Regions from separate parts of the Homo sapiens genome. Here regions 1 and 3 are each linked to region 2. Evidence: promoter capture Hi-C in 16 types of primary human blood cells and fetal thymus (Javierre and others, 2016). All regions are on one chromosome and are shown on one strand. The core of a region is centred on a gene start or on the middle of the fragment in contact, and the rest is flanking DNA. Distances in the headings are between cores, read along the strand shown. Region 1 overlaps NT5DC4 (5'-nucleotidase domain containing 4). Region 2 holds the start of IL36G (interleukin 36 gamma). Region 3 overlaps CKAP2L (cytoskeleton associated protein 2 like).

The links. The method cuts DNA at HindIII sites, captures the fragments that hold promoters and counts their contacts. A CHiCAGO score of 5 or more calls a contact.
Region 1: a contact is called between a fragment that was not itself captured here and the fragment with the promoter of IL36G in region 2, in 2 of 17 cell types (M1 macrophages and M0 macrophages). The highest score is 5.3, in M1 macrophages.
Region 3: a contact is called between a fragment that was not itself captured here and the fragment with the promoter of IL36G in region 2, in 2 of 17 cell types (M0 macrophages and M2 macrophages). The highest score is 6.0, in M0 macrophages.

Annotation. Positions count from the first base shown.
Region 1 is chr2:112,730,603-112,733,302 of GRCh38, reverse strand. The region is part of intron 16 of NT5DC4 (5'-nucleotidase domain containing 4); the gene reads right to left. Among named protein-coding and RNA genes, the nearest start is that of NT5DC4, 11 kb to the right of the region's middle. The HindIII fragment of the contact is 605 bases long and covers 1,058-1,662 here.
Region 2 is chr2:112,976,556-112,979,255 of GRCh38, reverse strand. IL36G (interleukin 36 gamma) reads right to left here and starts at 1,250. Exons shown (of 5, transcript NM_019618.4): 1 at 1,178-1,250; 2 at 563-636; 3 at 1-35. The coding sequence starts at 617. The HindIII fragment of the contact is 15,608 bases long and covers 1-2,700 here.
Region 3 is chr2:112,747,703-112,750,402 of GRCh38, reverse strand. The region is part of intron 5 of CKAP2L (cytoskeleton associated protein 2 like); the gene reads left to right. Among named protein-coding and RNA genes, the nearest start is that of CKAP2L, 16 kb to the left of the region's middle. RefSeq lists an enhancer at 349-398. The HindIII fragment of the contact is 1,467 bases long and covers 665-2,131 here.

The DNA of each region.
Region 1 (2,700 bases), core at 111-2,610, 250 kb after region 2:
TAGATAAAACAGGAGTGTAGAGGTGACATTAAGTTTAAAAAAAAAAAAAAACTACCCAAATAGAAGTATCTGTCCTACCTCCTACCCATGAGGTAGGACAGATACAGAATTAGGAGTTTGTCTAAGGATATGAGTTTTCTCATGAATGTGTCTGGGTAGGAGGTAGCATTCTAATCCAAAGCCCTATATCCTTTCTCCACTTTCTTTTTTCTCATATTCTTTGTCCTGCCCTTTCCCTGCAGTTCTACAAGAGTAATAATAAACTGGGTGACATGTGTCTTTCAATAAAATACACAGGTACGTAGATGCCAGAGACACAACGGTGAGCCAAAAGGACATTACCTTTTGGAGCTGAGAGTCTAGTGAGGACACGTGTTAATCTAGGAACCACAAATGCAAGACTCCAAGTCCTGAGAAATAGAGGCCTATGAGCGAGGGACTAAAGAGAAACTGGTCTAGTCAGGGATCTTCGCTGAGGGGAGAGCGGAGGTAACAGGGAGAAGAGGCAGGGAATGGGCCAGACATAGGAAAAGCACAAGAAAGGCCCTTTGGCCACCTCTCTCCTTTCCCTCGCTAGGATCCCCTAAAGCATTTCTGCCAGATTGTTTATCCCTCAGTCCTTTTCTGTATCCTCTCTACCCTGGGTAGGAATTCTGAGATTTGACTTTTGTAGTGTTAGCTACCACACTATATTTCAGGACCTTTCCGGAAAAGTATGGGCTCTAGGGTCTGAGCAGTTTTTCTGATAAATACTATCCTTTAGCTCTTGACTAAGAATCAAGCGTTTAAAGACACAGGCCAGTGAGACCTGGGATTTACTGGAGAACCTGCCCCTGTAAAGACACAGGCCAGTGAGACCTGGGATTTACTGGAGAACCTGCCCCTGTAAAGACACAGGCCAGTGAGACCTGGGATTTACTGGAGAACCTGCCCCTGTAAAGACACAGGCCAGTGAGACCTGGGATTTACTGGAGAACCTGCCCCTGCAGGCTCTGGGACCTGAAAGTCAAACCAGGGAAAGGAAGAAAAGGCCTTGGCAGTGTCAAACCTGGAAGCTTCTGAAATGCAAAGAAGATGTTTTAAAAAAAAAAATGCCAGGCTCGGTGGCTCTCGCCTGTAATCCCTACACGTTAAGAGGCCGAGGCAGGCGGATCACTTGAGGTCAGGAATTTGAGACCAGCCTGGCCAACATGGTGAAACCCTGTCTCTACTAAAAATACAAAAATTAGCCAGGTGTGGTGGAGTATGCCTGTAATCCCAACTACTCGGAGGTTGAGGCAGAAGAATTGCTTGAACCCAGGAGGTGGAGCCGAGATCGTGCCACTGCACTGCAGCCTGGGTGACAGAATGAGACTCTGTCTCAAAAAAAAAAAAAAAAAAAAAAAGTAAACTCTCTGATTCCATGGCCCGTTGTCCCTTATTTATCCTCAGGTATCTAAGTGTTGCCATTGTTTATCCACAGAAAATGAAGCTAATGAAGTGTGTCCTCAGACCTGTTCCTTCAAGGGTTTACTTTGTCATTTCAAACATGCAGATTCAACCTAGGTCTCCACAGAATGCCAGATGATACCACTAACAGACAAAAAGTAAACTGTAGGAGTAAACTGAAATCAGTGACATCAGAGCAATGATGCTTCAGCACTTTAATACCACAGAGAAGCTTCTAACACATTCGAGAGTCAAGTTTTAAAATCATGAGTATGACTTTTTATGTGTTTTAATGTGTATACACAAACTCAAAGACATTTGGGCTATCTCATTTAACATCTTTCGTAGTGACCCAGAATGAAAGAGCAGTTAGTGAGGCAATATATAGCCAATCAGGTTTTACTGTTCTTACTAGTAACAGAATCAGAAGTGCACAGAAATAACTATTTTTTAAAAGAAATGTTTAGAAATAAAATTGGATATGAGACATCATGCGTTCAAGAGAAGTAGGTAAAATAATTTCACTTGTGCACACGTTTCCAAACGTCTCAAAGACCATTGAGGATGCCTTCTAGGTTAAGAGCAATACTGCCTCCTCCCTAAAAGAAGTGTTTGCAGGCTCCAAATCTGCTGCATTTAGGAGATTTCAATACAGTTGCTTTTTCCTTTTTCCATACTTGTGTTATCTGAAAAATATCTCAAGTAGAAGATGGCCCGTGATGCCAGCCCATGTCCAGGATTCCGTCAGCCTCGATGTAACTTTCCTGATCCTCGTTTCTCTCTTTGCCCTAACCCTTATAAGAAACACAGAAAGTGACTATGGATATTTTCTTCCCAAGCTCACACAGTGACGCCCAACCAGGGGTAGATAATGTGTCAAAATGCCCTAGGCTGGATCCTGATGGGGTGAGGATATAGAGGGATCAAACCACAGGCTTCCCCAGCAAGCCTCTGTTACTGACAGGAGTGTGTCCATCTCTCTGCTGGGCTAGGATAGAAAAACAGTTGCCAACCACTGATTAAAGCCTGTGAATGCACTTGAATTTTGAGCTTCTCCTAGGCAGGAATGAAGTAACTTACACTTTATTTTCTAAACTGCCCGGCACACAGGAGGTGCTCAGTAAATACTGGTTGAAAGAACAAACACTGTGCCTGGTACAACCCAGCTAAAGGGGACCTATGGGATACACATCTTTTAAAGTGAGCCCCCAGAAAGCCAAGGGAGAAAGAGGAACATTTATGCAGGGTTTTGGGGGTGCAGAACCCAACGAG
Region 2 (2,700 bases), core at 1-2,500:
CAAATCATTAATAGTCCCAGTAATAGGTTTACACACTGATTTTGGGATAGAGAAAAAAATGAAGAAATATTATAATCAAGGCTGCTTTACTAGACCCAGGAGAAAAGTATCTAACCCAGGCCATTTTGTAAGGAAGGTGTGGGGTTTGCATCCCCAAACTGACAGCACTCACATCACCCATCAGCCTAGCCTTTCTTTCTAGTGAAGTTGTGAGCTCTGGTGAGGAAGGCAAGGGCTACCAAGGGAAGTCACTGGTTTAAGAGGGCAAACTATCAAGACAGAGGGCAATGAGCAGTCTCACAGAACCTGTGTGCCAAGGCCCAGCTACCCTCTTTTGTGCCTACTCTGTGCTTGGCCCCGGTGCTGGGGACTGGAGCTGGATCAGTGACTAAGCAATAGCTCCCACCCTCCAGAAGCCCAGGGCCCAGTGGTAGGTGGGCAGCACCAGGTGGGAAGGGCAGTGTACAGAGAGGAGCAGAGAAGGCTGGGGCTTCCACAGGAGATAGCGTGAGTGCAGAGGGCCTAAGCCTCCAGAGCCCCATCCCAACAGCATTTGATTCACTTGATTGATAGACGGCCCTTCCTCCACCATCAGCGTCTCCTGGAGTGCCTCTCATAGTGTGGTTGTCTCAGCACCTGTGAAAGCAGACATAGAACAGATGAACCACAAGAGATGTTTCCAAGACCTTCCAGGACACTAGCTCCACAGGCCCTCATTCTAGACAGGGAGCTGGGAAACCTGGCCTGACACGAAGCTCTGGGCAGAAGTTCTGAGCCACATCTGGGACGAAACTTGAAGGAAGCATCAGCAAAGGGAGAACAGGTAGAATTTTCCTCCACCTGGAGATCCAGATAGTATGGTAGTGTCTCCCCTAGGAGTTCGAAGGCCAGGCATAAAATTTGACCTTAAATAACCCACAGGCACCTGATGCCCTGACTCCTCTTCTCTGAAGCCTCCACCCCTTCATCGGCATTGTTTTTGCCTAGGAGCAGGGGAGGGTCCCATGCCAGGGCCACTCTGCCAGGATCCCAGCAACTCCCCAGTAAGAAGCAGCCACACATAGGACAAAGCACAGAGCCAGCCTGATGTGGCCCTTCCCTTCATTAAGCCCAAAGCACAGATGAGAGGAAAGGCTCCAGAGGGAGGGAGAAGAGGTTTTCCAGCTATTGACTATACCTGGCAAGAAAGGGTCTTTATCTACAGTCCAGGGGACTGAATCGTGGCTCCAGCAGCTTCCAAGGTCAGTGATGGGTTCTAATGGAGCCTGGATCATTTATCTGGATGAGCAGAGAAGGAGGCTCCAGCTTCCTGGGTGGGGCATGAGAAACGTATGACATGAAAGAAAACCAGCTCCTCCTACCAGAAGATCCTGTGAGGCTCGGAGGAAGAAATCACAGAATTAGCACAAGTATCACCTGTCCGGGCTCGCTGAGAAATAAGTGTTGAGCCAATCCGCACAAAATCAACCACAAGGAAATGAGGTTGATGACAGATCCTAGGTTTCTCATAAAGGGGAAACTAAGGGAATTTCCCAGAGTTCAGCTCTCCTGTCATGTCATTCTAGAGCTAGAACTGGAAATGCCAGGCACTCTCATGTCAGGGACTCCATCTCCTGGGACTGGGAGCCTTGCCCTCTGCAGTCAGGCTAAAGGCATCCTGTAAGAGCAAAATTAGCCACACGTCTCAGGCAAGGTCCCTGTGGCATTTCTCAACTACCCCACCTAAGGCCACACCTGAATGGAAAGCCAGGCAGTAGAGCTCCCCTACCTAACACTCTTTCAGCTCCATCCACATGGGGAGCCACAGGGACTATGCAGACTGGTCTTTTAACTGAGGCAATCCTAGTTTCAGGTACCCTCAAAATGCAGTGGACTCCAGAACTGCCTAAGGAAGTAAAGAGGTGGGCAGCGATTTCTCCCAAATCTGAGCCCCAGATGCCAGCTTATCCCCCACCCTCTGCCCTAGGTTCCTGATCAGTGGTAATAGTTATTTTTATATCTTGTTTATACACCCCATCCTATCTGCTGTAGCCAAGCCTAAAAATTTACTGAGGTATAAGTTAACTACTAGAGTGAAGTGAGTTTTAGGAGACAGACTTGAAGCACTAACAGCTTCAGGTTTACCCATCTATAAGGAAGAAAAGCACAAAGAATGAGACAGAACCTTCCAGATAAGCTCATCCATGAGCCCCTCTTCCCAGCCCTGCAAAGAGTCTCCTGACTCAACGTCTCTTACTTTTCACCCTAATCTCCTTTCTGGCCTTGGAAGAACACAGTCCTTTCCTGCCATGGCCCCAATTCTATCACTTTTGGCTTCCAGTGTTTCTGTGACCCTAGGAAAGAGTGTGGTAATGCCAGGTGCACTTTTGTTCAAAGTCAACCTGAGCCAGTGCCACCTCACTTGAGTCTCCATTGCCCTGTTAAAAATCCCCTCCATTACACATCAGTCAACATAACTCCTTTCTTGGGATGTTCACCACAAAACAGCATCTAAAATTCCCATCATTTGACCCCCCAAATCCCTTAAGCCTGAATTTCCAACTGGGATCCCTCTGAAAGCAGAATCCATGCTAGGAATTGCAAACAAAGGGAATTGAATAAAAGGAACTAGATACACGTGTGTTGGAAAGCCAAAGAAGATTAAGGGATTGCTGTGGTATCTCAGATAGTAACAACTACAGGAAGGAAACAAAAGGGAAC
Region 3 (2,700 bases), core at 149-2,648, 230 kb after region 2:
TTCATGGCTGCCTCGGGCGGACAAGAATTGTCAGGCACTTCTCACTCTCTGGGCACATACGAGGGAGCACAGATGCTGGCTGTGAAAGCACGCGGTAAGCCTGTGTGCACAAGATGCTGAAGGGATCAGAAGGAGTGTGGGTGCTACACACAGGGCTGACAGCACACAGGAACCTGAGGTAATGTGATAACTGTAGGAAGCAGCTTGTACCCACTGGGTCTAGGAGAACAAAGAGAGGTTAGGGTATCAGAACCAAGAAGCAGGAGAGACAAACCCTGGTAGAAATGGGACTCCAACTGTAAGGAAGGCATACTACCCAGCAGATGATGGAGGAGAGGCCCTGCAGGGCTGGGGCTCAGATTTTGAGGAAAAGATGCTATCCATTTGGTGCTTCTGCTCTGAAGCTGCACAGGGAGGTGGGCTCTGAGGGGGAAAAAAAGATGCTAGAACCAACTGTTACTGCCAGGGTGAGGGACCGTTGCTGGGGTGATGAAAGCAAATAGGAAGAAGCAAGTGTCTTCCTTCTCCATCCCTGCAGCCTCCCTCTCGTGCCCCCTGCTGGCAGAGCTGAGCAGGGAGCTGCTGCCCAGCAGAAAGTTTTACAGAGTTTTATCCCCAGCATCACAAAGCAGAGGATGGGGTTTGGGGCCAATAGACAAAAGCTTCATAACTGACATATCTTGTCATTGTTCATTTCTAAATAGCTTGAGATTCCCATTTTGAGTTCTTTAACCCAAAAAATATCTTAGAAAAGTATCTTTTAATTTCCAGATGTGTAGATTTTTTTTTTCTGCTGTTAATTTCTAATTATATTGCATTGTAGTTGGTGAATGTGGCCTATGTGTACTCTACTTGATGGATTTTGTTGAAATTTTCTTTGTGGCCTTAATATCTGATCATTCTTGGTAAATGTTCCAAAAGTGTTTGAAAATAATGTATATCCTATTTGTTTATTTGATCTATTGCTTTCTGAAAGAAATATGCCAAAGTCTGTCACTGGCACTGTGATTAATCATTGACAATTTCTCTTCATATGTCTGTCAATTTTTACTTTCTATTTTTTAAAGTTATGTTGTTAGGTACAGAAAGATTCATGACTTGCTTTGATTTCTTTTGTCTGATTAATCTTGCCACACCTGCTTTTTGTTGTTAGAATATGTCTGGTAGCTCTGGTAGCTCTTTTTCCATCCCTTTACTTTAAGCCTTCATGGGCTGACTTATTTTAGGTATGTCTCATATAAATGCACACAGTTAAATGTTTTAAACAAATTTGAAACTCTCTGCTTTTAAAAAGCAAATTTAGTTCGTACACATTTATTATGATTACTTGTATGTTTAAACTTATGCCTGCTATTTTATTTTGTAATTCAGCTTACATGAATTATTTTTTCCTCATTTCTGTGTTTAATCTAGTTTTATTTCATAAAATAATACACTGAAATGAAAATAAAGTGATAGATGTAAGCTCAAACATGATTTGCAGAATATATATCATATTCTTCTTGCAGTTCCTTTTTTCATTTTTTTTTTTTTTTTAAGAGACAGGGTTTCACTCTTTTGCCTAGATTGGAGTGCAGTGATGCCATCATAGCTCACTGCAACTTTAAACCTCCTGGGTGGACCCAAGTGATCCTCCACCTCAGCCTCCTGAGTAGCTAGGACTACAGGTACACACCACTACACCCATTATAGTTTACATTTTTTTGTAGACACAGGGTCTCACTGTGTTGCCCAGGCTGGTCTCAAACTCCTAGCCTCAAGCAGTCCTCTGCCTCAGCTTCCCAAAGTGCTGGGATTACAGGTGTGAACCACCCACTGCACCTGGCCTGCAGTTACTTTTATTTCAAGTCTTTCATGTGAATTCTAAAGTTTACTCACTAGTGACTTTATGATTTTTGAATGGCAAACCTTTTGAGTCTGTATTCTTGTGAAACTTGTTATTTGCCTTCATGCTGGAATCATAGTTTGGCTGGGGGAAATTTCTTAATTTCAGCTTGTTTTCCCTGGAAAAATTTAAGTGACTGCTTCATTTTCTTTCTTGCATCTGGAGTTGTTGATTTGTTAATGTCTCACGTCAGTCTGATTCTCATTCCTTTATAGGTAATCCTTTTCTTCCCCCTCTCTGGAAGCTTGTACGATTTTCTTTTTATCTTTGGTTTTCTATTATATTTTTTTCTCCCATTCATCCTGCTTAACTATCTGAGAGCCTTTTCAACCTGAACAACTGTTTCTTTGTTCATTTCTTGAAATTCTTCTTCTACAACCACTTTGTGTGTTGAACTTTTTTCCTTCTAGAAACTCTCTTAGATGGATATTGGAGTTATTGAGTAATGGATATATCCTTCAGAACTCTAAATGTTGTTTTCATACTGTTCACTTCATTGTTTTATTACACTGGTTTCTAGGAGGATTTCACAGCTGAATTTTCAGCTCACAGATGTATTCTTCAGCGCTGTCCATGCAGTTGTTCTGCCTTTCTGTTGGTTATTTTTCATAACAGCCCATTCTAGTTTTAGGATAGCAATACTCTCTCTTATCACTCTGAAGATATTGACTGTGATACTCTTAAAAGTATTCCTCTTTGCTCCAGTGTTCATTCTTGTTTGTTGAGTTTTATGCCTCTTTCATGTAGTGTTGGTTTTCTCAAATGTTAGTGATTCTCAATTGTGAACTTACCTTTGCGTCTCCCCCATTTCTAGC